Regions from separate parts of the Homo sapiens genome. Here region 2 is linked to region 1. Evidence: promoter capture Hi-C in 16 types of primary human blood cells and fetal thymus (Javierre and others, 2016). All regions are on one chromosome and are shown on one strand. Each heading gives the region's core, a stretch centred on a gene start or on the middle of the fragment in contact. The rest is flanking DNA. Distances are from core to core; before and after follow the strand shown. Region 1 holds the start of NINJ1 (ninjurin 1). Region 2 overlaps WNK2 (WNK lysine deficient protein kinase 2).

The links. The method cuts DNA at HindIII sites, captures the fragments that hold promoters and counts their contacts. A CHiCAGO score of 5 or more calls a contact.
Region 2: a fragment that was not itself captured here is called in contact with the fragment with the promoter of NINJ1 in region 1 in 1 of 17 cell types (neutrophils); the score reaches 5.3 in neutrophils.

Annotation. Positions count from the first base shown.
Region 1 is chr9:93,132,466-93,136,308 of GRCh38, reverse strand. It overlaps NINJ1 (ninjurin 1), which reads left to right and starts at 2,058. Exons shown (of 4, transcript NM_004148.4): 1 at 2,058-2,166. The coding sequence starts at 2,092. LOC124902212 (a long non-coding RNA gene) reads right to left here and starts at 3,297. Exons shown (of 3, transcript XR_007061665.1): 1 at 2,716-3,297. RefSeq lists enhancers at 748-1,344, 2,804-2,853 and silencers at 1,314-1,363, 1,864-2,093, 2,264-2,513. The HindIII fragment of the contact is 11,448 bases long and covers 1-3,843 here.
Region 2 is chr9:93,285,046-93,288,888 of GRCh38, reverse strand. WNK2 (WNK lysine deficient protein kinase 2) reads right to left here. Exons shown (of 30, transcript NM_006648.4): 20 at 1-101. Among named protein-coding and RNA genes, the nearest start is that of WNK2, 100 kb to the right of the region's middle. RefSeq lists an enhancer at 1-239. The HindIII fragment of the contact is 6,054 bases long and covers 1-3,843 here.

The sequences.
Region 1 (3,843 bases), core at 809-3,308:
CATTGAGCACAGTGGGGAAAACAGACACTACATACTCAAATGAGGATGACGGAGCAGACGAGGGAACTCCAGCGCTGCAGCCTGCCTGAGCCCTGACACCCACACGTCCTGCCAGCAGCCCCAGGAGCTGAGGAAACTGAGGCTGGGAGAGGGTCTCAGACGGCCAGCACAGAGCAGGTTTACAAACCCCGAGGCTGATGTCCCAACTGTCACTGGTGCTGCGACCCTCCCGGCTTCCTCTTAGAAGGTGGGAATGGGGCCAGGCGCAGTGGCTCATGCCTGTAATCCTAGCACTTTAGGAGGCTGAGGCGGGCAGATCACCTGAGGTCAGGAGGTGATCTGGCCAACATGGTGAAATTCTGTCTCTACCAAAAATACAAAAATTAGCCGGGCGTGGTGGCGCACACCTGTAGTCCCAGCTACTCAGGAGGCTGAGGCAGGAGAACGGTGTGAACCCGGGAGGTGGAGCTTGCAGTGAGCCAAGATCGCACCACTACACTCTAGCATGGGCGACAGAGCAAGACTCCATCTCAAAAAAAAAAAAAAAAAAGGATGGGAATGATGAACCACACTGCAGGAGCTCCCACATGGCACAAAGGAAAGAATACTCTCAGGACGGGGTCTCCACCTGCCAAGCCCTCCTACTTCGGGGCCTCTCTACACGCCCTTGGCCTTCCAAGGTCTCAGGGCTCCCCTGCAGCTCCCAGGGCCCTTTCTGGGTGTGACGTATTTTCTCTGTGGTCCCACACCTCCTGCCCCTCCAGGAATTGAGCCCTCGTGGGCAGGCACTATCCCCCAGAATAGGGATTTGTCCCATACTGTGAGAGAGTTTTTTGTGTGAATGGTGCTGGATTTCCAGCTGCTGGTGAACACTCAGGTGTGCCAACAGTGCCCTGATTATGCGAGGACAACAGCAACCATCCCCGTCGTGGGCCACCGTGCCAGACCCTGTCCTGCAGATCCCCTCTGAGGCAGAGCTGGGGCAGTGACAGCCTGAGCCTCAGTTTCTCTGCTGTGAAGTGGGCCCACGACAGCTCCTCCTTCATGGGATGACCCCGTTTGGAGGATCAGGGCAAGCGCAATCCTGCTGCCCTGCCCATGCCCACTCACTCCTACCTCCTGTCCCGGTGGCAGCCTGACTGGACAGAGCCTGGGGTCTGAGCTGGCCTTCCTTCCACTGCCCTTCTGGAAATAGAGTGGCCATACTGCCGCAAGCTGACTATGCTGTGGTCAGGATGAACTCCCCTGGCCTCCCAGGGTGGCCGCCACATGCTCTCGACCCCCAGGCCCCCAGATGGGCAAAGTGCTGAGGAATGAACATATGGAGAAACAGAGACCAAACAACCACTTCAATCATACAACAGGTGGGGGCCCGCCTAGCATCTGGCCAGGGCTCTGGGCACTGTGCTGCCCCCAGCCCACCCCCTGCCACAGGTGGCACAGATGGGCCCATGAGTCAGCGCACGTTCATCCCCTTTGTGCCTCCCCCAGCCCCTCCAGCAGTCTGTGCCCTCATAACCCCCATTTCCCAGGCAGGAAAACCTAAGGTCAGGGAGTGGGAAGCCCTGTGTCAGCGTGGCCCGCAATCAGGGGAACCCCGGACTCTCTGACGCTGTTACTAGGGGCGCAGCAGGCGCTGTGCTGGAGCGATCTGCGGTTCCCAGGGCGAACCCCGCCTGGGAAAAACCCAGCGTGGGCGCCAGCGGCAACGCCCGCTCGCTTTCATGCAGTTTGCCTGGTGGCCAGGGAAAGGTCGTTCTTGGCCTCATTTTGTGGATTAAAAGTGTCCGCGACGGAGGTTCAGAGCAAGACGCAGCGCAGGGTCCTCTGGGGCCATCGGCGTCGCGCCCCCTCCCTTGTGGGGCCCCGCGGGACCGTCTCAGGCCCGAGGGGTTGGGGTCGCCCCAAACTGCGCGCTCTCAGCGTACAGCCTCCAGGCCCCGGGCCCGCCCCGGGTGGAGGCGGAGTCTGGGGCAGCAGCTCGCCGCCGGGCGGGCCGGGGGCGGGCCGGGGGCGGGCGCGCAGCTGGAGCCTGCGGCTGAGGCTCGGGCGCGCTCAGGCCCGGATCCTGGCGGCCTGGGCGGCCGCACCATGGACTCGGGAACCGAGGAGTACGAGCTCAACGGCGGCCTGCCTCCGGGCACACCCGGCTCCCCGGACGCCTCGGTAAGACCTTCCCCCCACCGCTGCATGATCTTGCCAGGCCCTGTCCTTTCGGGGCGCCGCGGCTCCCCGGGCACCTGTGTGCGCCGCGTCCGCACTGCAGAGTGTTGGGGGACGTCCCGCTCTAGGCCAAGTCCTTCCCGCCCCATCAGGGTCAGAACGATGCCCCCGGGAGCTCCAGCCACCCCCGGCAAGTGGGCGGGACGAGGGGGCGTGGGGGCGCAGGGCGGGCTGGCGTCCCCAGCCCCACTAAGCAGCGCCCGCGCTTGGCTGCACGGCGGAGGGGGCCTCGGCGCAGCTCCTCGGGCTAAGGACTGCCGGCGCCCGGCTTTCCCGACCTCCCCCCCACTCTCGCGCGGGCCTCTCTAACTTCAGCCTCGCCGTGCCGGCTCCTCCGCGCACTTTGCCCGGAGGCGGGCGGAGGGGAGTCACAGCCTCCGGGCTCCAGACCAGCTGCATGCAGACAGTTACGTCACCCCACGCTGACCACACAATCTGATGCGTGCCTTGATGGGGGAACTTGGGGCCCGCTGTGGTCCCTATTCCACTCACCTGCCTTGAGAAATAGAAACGTCACACAGCCTTCAGTGTATGCCGCCACCGGCCCTCCAGAACTTGCCCTGCCCGGCCTGGGAGGGCTGTGGGCAGGGGGCAGGCCCTGGTAGTGGTCCCGCTTCAGAATTCTTCATCCCAGGACTCAGCACTTACTGAGCACCTTGTGTTTGTTGCAAGGTCCTGGCATGGCCCTCTGGTGACTTGTTTACTTTGAACATTCTTTCCTTTTCTAACCCCCTCAGGGATGGGGGCAGGGAACAGCAGCCTGTTGGGTTTTTCCAGGCCTCTCCATGGCGTGGACCAGACTGGGGCAAAGACACTCTGCCCACTCGCTGGTGAACAGTCCTAGGCCGGTGCTGTGGGGACAGGACATGTTCGGGGAGGCGGGGCCCCATGAGCCACGGGATAGGATGGCCCTGGGGCTGCATGGACACTTGTTCCTAGGTTAGAGAGGAGCTGTCGCACTGCAGGACTTGACCGGTGTGCGGGACCCCAGCGACCTGGCCCTGCCCCAGTGTGTGAGCACTTTGGAGCAATAGGCAGGGGGCTCCTCCGGCTGTGTGTCCTTGGGAAGTTGCCACACCTCGCTGGGCCTTTTAGACATGGTCTTATAAAGAGAGAACAAAGGGTCTCTCCTGCCTTCAGGGAAGTGGGGAAAGCAAGTCAGGTAATAAACAGGTCAGTGGCTTGGAAGCGCCTTGGAAAGGAAGGGATACTGCTCCTCCCCCAACCCTGACCTTGCCCGGGCAATGCCCTCCACTCAGAGCAGTCTCTGCTCACTTCTGCGGGCGGCAGGATAGGCTGTGCCTCCTGAGATGGGTGCATCTCAAGCCCAGAGGAGATTGGGTTGGATTTGTTCCCGGATCACTGTCTTGGCTCTGGGCACCAGAGGGAGAGAGACACAGCCCCGCCCCACCAAGCCGCGGTTGGAGAGCAGCCCAGCCCAGACAGGGCAGGAGAGGCCAGGGCAAAGCAGGGGGTTCCCTGGGGGCTGGGAGCCCATCGTGGGGGGCGGGGCATGGTGGTCAGGGAAGGCTTTCTGTGGAGGTGGGGACATTGGCTCTGAGCCCTGGAGGGCAGGGAAGGTGGGTGAGCAGATCTGGCTCTCTGAGATGTGTGGAAGGG
Region 2 (3,843 bases), core at 422-2,921, 150 kb before region 1:
CCCAGGAGGGTTGCTGGGGCCCGCCTGGCTCAGGAGCTGCTGACTGGCTAGAAAGCTGGGTTGTTCCTTCGAGGACAGCTGGTCTTTATAGGGCGCTGAATCTAGAAGAAATGGGGAAAATGCCTTTGTACCAGGGTACTCCAGTCCTATCTACCTGTTTCTTCCTTGGCTAAAAAGATGCCTTACACAGCTGGCCATGGCCCCAGCGTGCTGGTCTTCTCTGTTTCCCGACACGCCAGGCTCCTGCCTGCCTGCAGCTCAGCCCAGCCTTGGCTGCTGCTTCCTGTAACGCCTCCCACAGGTCTCTGAGCCACCAGCTTCGCAACTCCAGGTCCCTGTTCCCATAGTGTCCCTTGTGGCTGAACCAGCACCACCCTTCCTTCTGTGTCTTCTGTAGCGTGTGACCATCAGCTGTGGCTGTTGCCTGTCTGTCATCTGTCTGTCCACACCCTCACCCGCACAGACAGCTCCAGAAAGATACGGCTCTTGTCTATCTTGCACTGGACAAAAGTTATTCAATGAAATTTCAAAATTAAAGAGTTTAAGTAGTGAGCTGTACACACTTCCATGCCCAGGAGTGAGCAGGAGCCTGAAGCCTTCAGACCCCCAGTCTTTGGTATGGTCAGAAGCGCAGCCAGGGCTGGTCAGTGACCCTGTGGGAGGAATCCAGAACCCCAGCAGTATAACCAAGTCTCCCAGTGCCTTGTGCAGGAGCTCATGGAGCCTCCACCAGGCTCACAGGGACTGCGGGCATCTGAGAGGTGGCAGGACGGTGTTTCTCAAACTTGGCCTTGGAGCCCAGTTTTCCTTACTTGAAAATGCAACCCGACCTTTCTTTTTTTTTGGAGATGGTCTGGCTCTGTCACCCAGGCTGGAGTGCAGTGGTGCAATCTCGCCTCACTGCAACCTCTGCCTCCCGGGCTCAAGCAATCCTCCCACCTCAGCCTTCCTTGTAGCTCGGACCACAGCTGGATAATTTTTGTATTTTTCATATGAGACTGGGTTTCACCATGTTGCCCAGGCTGGTCTTGTACTCCTGGGCTCAAGCAATCCGCTGGCCTCAGCCTCCCAAAGTGTTGGGATGACAGGTGTGAGCCCCCACGCCCAGCCCACTTTGTCTTTTTAAAAAACACAAAGAAAATGAACACAAAAAAAGAAAACTGTTCAAAAAATAAAAGGTGAGAATGGGGAGATTAATAGGACCCTGATGCCCTCCCTCGTGCCCCCAGACTCCCTTGGTCCCCATCCCCTGCCTGGCCCAACAAAGGTAAACTAATTTGACCAAAATTTCCTCCACTGCTCCTTTCCGGCCTTACCGTTCGTCTGTCTAAACATGATGGTCGTGCTGCACGTTCTATCAATGGAATGGTACTCTATTCTGTGGTGCCTGGCCTCTCTCACCGTGTTTGTGAGATGTGTCCTTGTTATTGTTTGCACAACTGCACCATGATGCACGCATCCATTCTGTGTTGGTACTCACTGGGCTGTGGCTGGGTGGGACCACGACTAACACTGAGGCACAGTGCGTGCAGGCCCGTGTCCTGCCAGGCACACGCCACTGGGGAGCTGCTGGTCACTGATCCCCTTTAGCTTTATGTAAGGGTGCCAAGGTGCTTCCCCAAGCAGGAGCCAATGCCCCCACCATCGGCAGCCTCTGAGCACCCCTAGGGCTGTGTGATGGCGTCTTATTGTGGCTCTTTATTGTTTTTTAATTATGGAAAAAACATTTAAGATGAGATCTGCTGTCTTAACACATTTTTAAAAGCATGATACTCTATTGTTAACTATAGGCACTATGTTGTGTGGCAAAGCTCTAGAGCTTACTCAGCTTATATAACTGAAACTTTATGCCCTCAATGGTAACTCCGTTTCCCTCTCCCTCCAGCTGCTGGCAACTTCCATTCTGCTCTCTGCTTTGACTGTTTTTGACTTTGACTGTTTTAGATACTGCATATGAGAGGAATGAATCGTGTAGTCTTTCTGTGCCTGGCTTATTTCATATAGCATAATGTCCTGTAGGTTCATCCATGTCGTCGCAAATGGTAGTTTCCTTGTTTTTGTGGTTAAACAGTACTCCACTGTGCAAACATATCACATTTTCTTTATCCATTCATCTGTGAAGACACTTAGGTTGTTTCCATATCTTGGCTATTGTGAATAACGCTGCAATGAACACAGGAGAGCAGGTATTTCTTCCAAACCTTGTTTTCAATTATCTTGAATATATACCCAGCAGTGGGATTGCTGGATCATACGGTAGTTCTATTTTAATTTTTTGAGGAAGGTCCACATTGTTTTCCATAATGGTTGTAGTAATTTACACTCACACCACACTGCACAAAGGTCCCCTCTCTCCACATCCTGGCCAATACTTGCAGTCCTTTGTTTTTGAGAGCAGTGATCTTAACAGGTGTGAGGTGATAGCTCAGTGTGGTTTTGATTTGCATTTCCCTGATAATACTTAATTCAATTGAGTACCTTCTCCTGTGTTCACTGGCCATCTGGGTATCTTCTTTTAGGACACACCTGTTCAAGTCTCTTGCCTGCTTTTCTACAGAGCTGTCATTCTTTTCTTTTTAATTTGTGGTTCTTCATGATGCTGGGTAGAGAACTGTCTGGGGGCTATCTGTACTACAGAATCTCTCGCTCCGTGACTCGCCTATGTGCTCGATTAGTGGTGTCTTTTGATAAACAATAGTTTTTTATTTTAATACAGTCAAATTTAACCAATTTTTAGCCAGTCTTTCCATTTGCATATTTTGTTGAACTTTAACGTATGTGTTCTACGTGGGGGCCATAATGATACTGCCTCTTATTACTTCTAGGAACTTTACTGTTTTCCCTTTTACATTGAGATTCACAAGCGACTTGTTACTGAGTTTTGTGTGTGGTATGAGGATCATCTCCCTGTGTGGACAGCCTACTATCCCAACTCTTTCTGTTGAGAAGACCACCCGGTCTCCACTGTTTGACAATCGGACCTTTCTTGTCAACCACGTGTCCAAAGATGTGGGCCTGCTTCTGAGCTGGCTTGACTCCATTGCTCAATTTCTCTACCCTTGTTCTAGGACCAGATTGTCTCTGTGACTCCAGGTTTATATGAGTCACAACATCTGGGAGAATGGTATCCTTCCCCTAGAAGCTGTCTTGGTTTTTACTGGTTTTTGCATTTCTGTAAAGAGTATATAATCAGTGTGTTGATGCTCATTTAGAAATTGTTAGAATCTGAATCTGCAGATCTGTTTGGGAAGAAGTGTTTATAATACTGAATCTTCCAGTCCATGAATATGGTACATATCTTCCTACTCATTTCTTTTTAAAATTTCTCTCAATGTTTTGTAGTTTTTGGTATACAGATGTTACATACTTTTCGTTAGATTCATACACTGGTGTTTGGCATTTTTGTGTTACTATAAATTGAATTTTTCAATATTCTTTATTTTCTGATTGTTGTTGGTATACAGAAAGATAACTGCAGTCTGTAGCTACTTTGCTAACTTATTAATTCCAATTTATCTGTAAATTTAAATCTCTATGTATATAATCATGTTATCAGCCAACAGTGGTAGTTTTATTTCTTCCTTTCCAATCCTTATCACTTTTTAAAACAGTAATTGTTTTAATACCATTAGATATTGAGGCAAAATGATAAAATTATAGTGTTACCAAAAGGCCACGATTATTTCTACTTCAAAATAGAAAGAGTTTTAGCAAATGTATTCCTTGGAAATAACTGCTATTTAGCCCAGTAATTTTATAGGTAGAGCTTCTGAGTCAAAGAAGTTATCTTGCTTTGTCCAAATTCTTAACAAAAAATAGTAATGCTAAAAGGAATATTACCTT